2 separate regions of the Homo sapiens genome follow, and region 1 is linked to region 2. The links are contacts of gene promoters, found by promoter capture Hi-C in human tissues and cell types (Jung and others, 2019). All regions are on one chromosome and are shown on one strand. The core of a region is centred on a gene start or on the middle of the fragment in contact, and the rest is flanking DNA. Distances in the headings are between cores, read along the strand shown. Region 1 overlaps ASNS (asparagine synthetase (glutamine-hydrolyzing)). Region 2 holds the start of BHLHA15 (basic helix-loop-helix family member a15).

Region 1 (3,518 bases), core at 39-2,538, 350 kb before region 2:
AATCTTGGGCTGGATTAGTTATTGAAATGAAATACACAATCATCAACATCTATCATGATGGTATTTACTCAATGGTGGAGTGTGCCAAATCTTAATGTGTTCCCTCCAAACAAAATAGGAAGTAGGTCTTGAAACTAAAATCATTCAAATGATGGGAGAATACAACTTAAAATTTTTTTCCCTTGGAGAAGGATGGGGAATAGGTGGGTGGGTGTCTGCTACCTGGAAAGAGTTTCTCCACATTGTCATAGAGGGCGTGCAGGGGTACATCCCGACAGTGATGATATTTAACCATTTCCACGGATGCAACTTTGCCATTTGGCTTTAAATCCAAAACTTCATAGTGTCCAGGAAGAAAAGGCTCCACTTTTAAAAAGGGAGTCGCGGAGTGCTTCAATGTAACAAGACCTAGAAATTCACAATGATACCTTTATTCAAATTAGGTAACCCTTCCCAATAACTTTCACGATTAGTTAACATCATCTACATTCCTATTTTCCCTTTTTAATACAAACACATACCCATTAAATAAGCAAAATAGGAAAAAAAATTTTCTATTTTCCTAAGCCCTACCATCTACTTACCTGAGAGACAATAATGGCACAGGGATATACTGCCAAATTACACTAACTTTTCGTAATTCAAAGAAATAGAAAAATCTCCAGTGTTCAATTTCTTCTTCTTAGATTTCTAATCAAGAAAACCTATTTTCTATACTAAAGCAAATACACAAAAGGAAAAGACACACTTATGAAGCAAAGGGATGAACTGGAGTCCTAATGTTATGATAGGCTGGGAGTCATTTATTTGTCATCACTGAGGTATTTTCAGAACACAGCCATGGTTCCCAGACCTTTAACAAGTACAATGATCCACTTTTACCTACTTTAAAGTCAGATAAGAAGACATCTATCCCTTAACTAGTTGTTATACACTATATGTGAATAAAACCATATAACTTAAATTTCCTCAATAAATTCTCACAGACAGTACAGTACCCAACCTCTCATCACCATGATCTTTGATACAAACATCAATGTTTTATTGTAGATCGTAATGGACTATCTACATGGAATACTCGTGATTTACAATTTGAGATTGTCTACCCAGCCAGTAACCTGTGTAGCACTGAATTCAAATACCAGAAAAAGGACCCAGATTCCCTCACCAGCCAGCAGAGCTCAAGTGAGCTACACAACCCGGATAGGGAATGGGGAGTAATTAAAAGGTTTTAAGCAGGCAATACTATAATCAGATGAGATTTTGACAGGTTATTCTAAAAGCACTGAGAAAAGAAAATTGTTGCAGTATTCCAGATGAGATAATTTGGTCTGGAAAAGGACAGTGTCAAGGATATAGAAAAGAACAATTAAGGAATTTCAGAGGGTAAGTTCCATATCAAGTGATCATCAGGCTCAAAGAAGGCCCAGGGGAGCAGGAGGCTGCTTTTCCCCAGTGTTCTCTTTACCAGGCTTTCCCAGCAGTCCTGGCAACTGACATATATATATGCTTGTTCTTTGCCATCTGATCACACTAGAAATGCCTGAAAATAAGCCAGTTCCAGTATTAGTACAAACACTGTGACTAGTGTCCTAAGGACCCCTTTGATTGATCTCATTATCCCTGCTTCAGCCAATATTAAATCTGAAAATTAAGTGAGAAAGAATTTAAAGAATGGCAAAAAGAGGCAGGGAGAGAGATATTAGGATGTTACTGCTGCACAGGTAAGGGATAAAAGATAAATGTCTTCCTCAAGTTTACCATCAAAAAGTGCTATGCATGATTTGCAAGTATTTTCTTCCAACTTGTGGGCCGTCTTTTCACTTTCTTGATGGTGTCCTTTGATGTGCAAAAATGTTTAATTTTGATGAAGTCCAATTCATTGATTTTTATTATTGTTGCTGGTCTCATATTTAAGAAAGCTTTGCCAAATCCAGGGTCATGACAATTTACTTCTATGTTTGCTTCTCGGGATTTTATAGTTTTAGCCCTTACATTTAAGTGGATTAGTTCAAAACTGATTCATTTGATCCTTTTTTTTTTTTTTTTTGAGATGAGTCTCGCTCTGTCACTCAGGCTGGAGTGCAGTTGCGCGATCTCGGCTTACCGCAAGCTCCGTCTCCCGGGTTCACGCCATTCTCCTGCCTCAGCCTCCTGAGTAGCTGGGACTACAGGCGCCCGCCACCACGCCCGGCTAATTTTTAGTAGAGACGGGGTTTCACTGTGTTAGCCAGGATGGTCTCGATCTCCTGACCTCGTGATCCACCCGCCTCGGCCTCCCAAAGTGCTGGGATTACAGGCATAAGCCATCGCGCCTGGCCTGATCCATTTTTCTGTATCCATAATTTTTGTATACGATGTTGGGTAAAGATTCAACTCCAAGTTTTGCATATGGTTACATATCTGGTTGCCCCTGTGCCAGTTTTCAAACTTCTTTCTCCACTGAATAATCTTGGCACCCTTGTCAAAAATAAGTTGATCATATATGTATGGGTTCATTTCTGACTCTCAATTCTATCCCACTAGTCTATACATCTATCCTTCTGTCAGTATTATATTGTCCTTATTACCATTGTCTTGTAGTAAGTTTTAAAATCAGTTAATATGAGGTCTCCTACTTTGTTCTTCATTTTCAAAAGATTGTTTTGGCTATTCTTAGTCTCTTGCAATTCCATATGAATTTGAGAGTCAGCTTGTAGATTTCACAAAGAACTCATCTGGGATTCTGATAGGGATCAAGTTAAATCTGTAAATCAGTTTAGGGAGGACTGCCATCTTAACAATGTTAAGCCTTCAAATCATGATCATGGGATACTTTTCCATTTATTTAGATCTCCTCTCATTTCTTTCAACAACATTTTATAGTTTTCAGAGTACAAGTTTTACACTTCTTAAATTTATTTCTAAGTATTTTATTCTTTTTGATGCTATTATAAATGAAGTTGCTTTCTTAATTTCATTTTGATTGCTCATTTTAAGTATGTAGTATTCAGTTAAAGTGTGTCAAATACCATTGATTTTTGTATATTCATCTTGTATCCTGCAACCCTGATGAACAGAAGGGATTTGTATCTAGAATACATAAGGAACTATTACAATTCAGTAATAAAAAGACAAAATAACTCAATTAGAAATGGGTAATTCAAGAATGGATAAACAAATTGCATTGCATGCAAACAAATGGAATATTATTCAGCAAGCACACCAACATGGCACATGTATACATATGTAACAAACCTGCACGTTATGCACATGTACCCTAGAACTTAAAGTATAATAATAATAATAATAAATGAGCTATCAAGCCATGAAAAAACACAGAAGAACTATAAATGTATACTGCTAGGTGAAAGAAGCCAGTCTGAAAAAGCTACATACTATATGATTACAACTATTATACGACATTCTGGGAAAGGCAAAGTGAGAGAGAAAGCAAAAAGATCAGTAATGACTGGGGGGTTAGGAGGAAGAGGACGGGAGGAAAGAATAAGTGGAGCACAGGAGATTTTTAGGGCAAT
Region 2 (3,287 bases), core at 377-2,876:
ATAACCACTGGAAAACCAAACCTGTTTAGTGTTCCTGCCACCTTGAAGCATGTCTATAAACCATGCCTTTGCACTCATGAATTTCGGAAGCATTTTCATTTCCAAGGACCTCATTTGGCCCAGCCTCAAATGAGCTTTAGGCCAAGAGAAGAACTAACTAACCTTGGCTCCAAGCTAGCCTTTCTGTGCCCGCCCCCCGCCCCACTATGGCCCCTCTGAGTTCCCACCCAGAGGTACTGAGACAGAGCGGCGAGACCCATGAGTGTGGAGCCCAGGCCTGCCAGCCAGCGTGACACTCACCGCACCCCCAGCAGCGTGCAGTCACCGCACCCCTAGCAGCCCCGAATAGTCCCTGAGCAAGATGCTGCTTTGGCTGGGCGTGGTGGCTCACGCATGTAATCCCAGCACTTTGGGATGCCGAGGCGGGTGGATCACTTGAGGTCAGGAGTTGAAGACCAGCCTGGCCAACGTGGAGAAACCCCGTCTCTACTAAAAATACAAAAATTAGCTGGGCGTGGTGGTGCATGCCTGTAATCCCAGCTACTCGGGAGGCTGAGGCAGGAGAATCGCTTGAACCCGGGAGGCGGAGGTTGCGGTGAGCCGAGATCATCTCGCTCCATTGCACGCCAGCCTGGGCAGCAAGAGCGAAACTCCGTCTCAAAAACAAACAAACAAACAAAACAGGCGTTCCCAAGGACTGCACACCTGCCCAAGGAGCCCCCCACCCCCACCCCAACTCGGGCTCCGCCCCCAGCCCGTAGGAGCCCCAGGTTCCCCTAAACATCCCGGGCGGCGGGGCGGGGGATCCCCTGGGAGATGCCCGCGTTTTCGCGGAGCGGCTCGTCCCGGAGTGCTCCTGGGACTTGGGATCTGTGTGCTGAGCCTGAATCGGGGCTGCCCCTCCTTCCGGCGGCTCCCAGAGACCTGTTTCCCATTGGCGGAATGGGCCCGGGCCCCGCCACGAGTGGAGAGGCCGGGCAAGGAGGATCGCGGGAGGCATGGATGCGGGGGTGCTGTGTCAGGGGGAGGGTCGGGGAAAGCGGGCGGGGGGAGGCTGTCTCGGGCACGGATATGGGGTAGGCGGGTGGGAAAGGCGCGAGTGGAAATTGAGGGGGAGGATGGGGAAAAGCAGGTTGTGGGGAGGCTGTCGGGGGACGGGAGTAGGGGAGGTGGGGACGCAGGCTGTCTTGGGGGGGCTGTAGCGGGAGAATGGGGAGAGACGAATGGGGGGAAGCTATCTCGGGGCGGTTGGGGGGCTGTCGGGGGAGGATGGGGAGAAGCGTGTGGGGGAGGCTGTCTGGGGGAACGAGGGTCGGGGGCTGTCGGGGGATGGTGGGGAGAGGCGGGCGGGGGTGGCTGTCTTGGGGGACGAGGGTGGGGGGCAGTAGGGGGAGGATGGGGAGAGGCGGGCGGGGGAGGTTTTCTATCTTGGGGGCGGGGCGGAAGCTGGGGGCGGGGCTGCGCGGCCACCTGGTCCGGGAGCCCCAGGCGCCGGCCTCCCGCCCGCCCGCCCGCAGGTGCCGCCACTGCTGCCCAGCGCCCGCCGGGACACCCGGACCCCGGCCCCGCCCCGGCCCCGCCCCGAGGGCTCATTTGCATGCGTCCGCGGCCCCTCCCGGGGCGGCTAAAGCGACGTGTCCTTGTCCCCCGTGGGCAGCCTCGGCGCGTGTGGCCGCGGATCCCCAGGTAACCCGGGAGCTGGGAACTCGGGTGGGGCCGCGGGGAGGGGACCCAGGGGCAGGACCTGGCGGTGGGGTTGTGGGGGTTGTGGGGGCTGTGGGGAAACCCGGGTGGGGGACTTCTGGTCTGTCTGGAGGCTCCACGGGGCCCATCCACGTGGTGGGATTGGGGGCTGCCGCCAGGCCCTGGCCATTGCCGACCTCTGACCTCCACGGCTGCCCCATGTCCGCAGCGGTTCTGGCCCCAGTGCTGTCCCATGTCCGCAGCGGTTCTGGCCCCAGTGCTGTCCCTGCACGTGTCACGTCCAGCGGGGCAGGACAGTGAGAGCCTGGTGGCTGGAGTCACTGCCCGCCCACGGGATGAAGTCAGTGCCGCCTCCGGCAGAGGCGCCCCCTAAGCTAGGGTGGGGGACGCATTCTAGGCAAAGTGTCAAAGGTCACCGAGCTCAGGAGGCACTCTGGGGGCAGTGAGGGGCATGAGCCAGAGGAAGATCTAGGGGTCAGGATGAGTCATCCTGGGGGAAGGGGGACGCAGGGACAGGGACAGATTCCAGAGGTCTGTTTGAGGTAAAGCAAGGGCGTGGGTGTGTGTGGGGTCAGCCCAGGGCTAAGCGTGTGAACAGAAGGACCTCCAGTCGCAGAGCGCCAACCCCTGCCCCTGGTACCATTGCTGTCAGCAAGGAGGAGGCTGCCAGGGACGGCACCCCAGCGGGTCCCCTGCCCATGTGGGGTGACCACAGAGTGTCCTGTGTTCTGGATTTCAGCTCCAAGGGCCTCACCTTCCTGCCGCCACCTCCTAGGACAGCCAGTCCAGGGCCATGAAGACCAAGAACCGGCCCCCACGGCGCCGGGCCCCGGTGCAGGACACAGAGGCCACCCCCGGGGAGGGGACGCCCGACGGGTCCCTGCCGAACCCGGGGCCAGAGCCGGCCAAGGGTCTGCGGAGCCGGCCGGCCCGGGCCGCAGCAAGGGCTCCGGGCGAGGGCAGGCGCAGGCGGCCAGGACCCTCCGGGCCCGGTGGCCGTCGTGACAGCAGCATCCAGCGGCGGCTGGAGAGCAACGAGAGGGAGCGGCAGCGGATGCACAAGCTAAATAACGCCTTCCAGGCCCTGCGTGAAGTCATCCCCCACGTGCGCGCGGACAAGAAGCTCTCCAAGATCGAGACGCTCACGCTGGCCAAGAACTACATCAAATCGCTGACGGCCACCATCCTGACCATGTCCAGCAGCCGCCTCCCAGGCCTGGAGGGGCCGGGCCCCAAGCTCTACCAGCACTACCAGCAGCAGCAGCAGGTGGCTGGGGGTGCGTTGGGGGCCACGGAGGCCCAGCCCCAGGGCCACCTGCAGAGGTACTCCACGCAGATCCACAGCTTCCGAGAGGGCACCTAGCGCCCAGTCCTGGGTGGGGGTGGCGGTGGCCGCAGCTGCCTGGCCTGCTCCTCCCAGCCCCAGTCCCTCCAAGCCACGAGCCCCAGATGGGCGGTGACACCCCACAAGGACACGGCCTCAGCGGTTCCATTTTCCCCCGAACATTCAGCCACTTCCCTGGAGCAATTTTTCCTGCCCCGCTGGGGACCAGCGAGTGGCCTAGTTGCGGCTGTGGCCCTGG

What was found. The method cuts DNA at HindIII sites, captures the fragments that hold promoters and counts their contacts. A contact is called where the count stands out against the background at its distance.
Region 1: a contact is called between a fragment that was not itself captured here and the fragment with the promoter of BHLHA15 in region 2, in 1 of the 25 tissues and cell types used here (mesendoderm cells).

The regions. Positions count from the first base shown.
Region 1 is chr7:97,858,991-97,862,508 of GRCh38, forward strand. ASNS (asparagine synthetase (glutamine-hydrolyzing)) reads right to left here. Exons shown (of 13, transcript NM_001673.5): 5 at 223-408. CZ1P-ASNS (CZ1P-ASNS readthrough) reads right to left here. Exons shown (of 19, transcript NR_147989.1): 11 at 223-408. Among named protein-coding and RNA genes, the nearest start is that of ASNS, 12 kb to the right of the region's middle. The HindIII fragment of the contact is 7,001 bases long and covers 1-3,518 here.
Region 2 is chr7:98,209,813-98,213,099 of GRCh38, forward strand. It overlaps BHLHA15 (basic helix-loop-helix family member a15), which reads left to right and starts at 1,627. Exons shown (of 2, transcript NM_177455.4): 1 at 1,627-1,686; 2 at 2,444-3,287. The coding sequence starts at 2,498. The coding sequence ends at 3,067. RefSeq lists a silencer at 1,499-1,688. The HindIII fragment of the contact is 24,836 bases long and covers 1-3,287 here.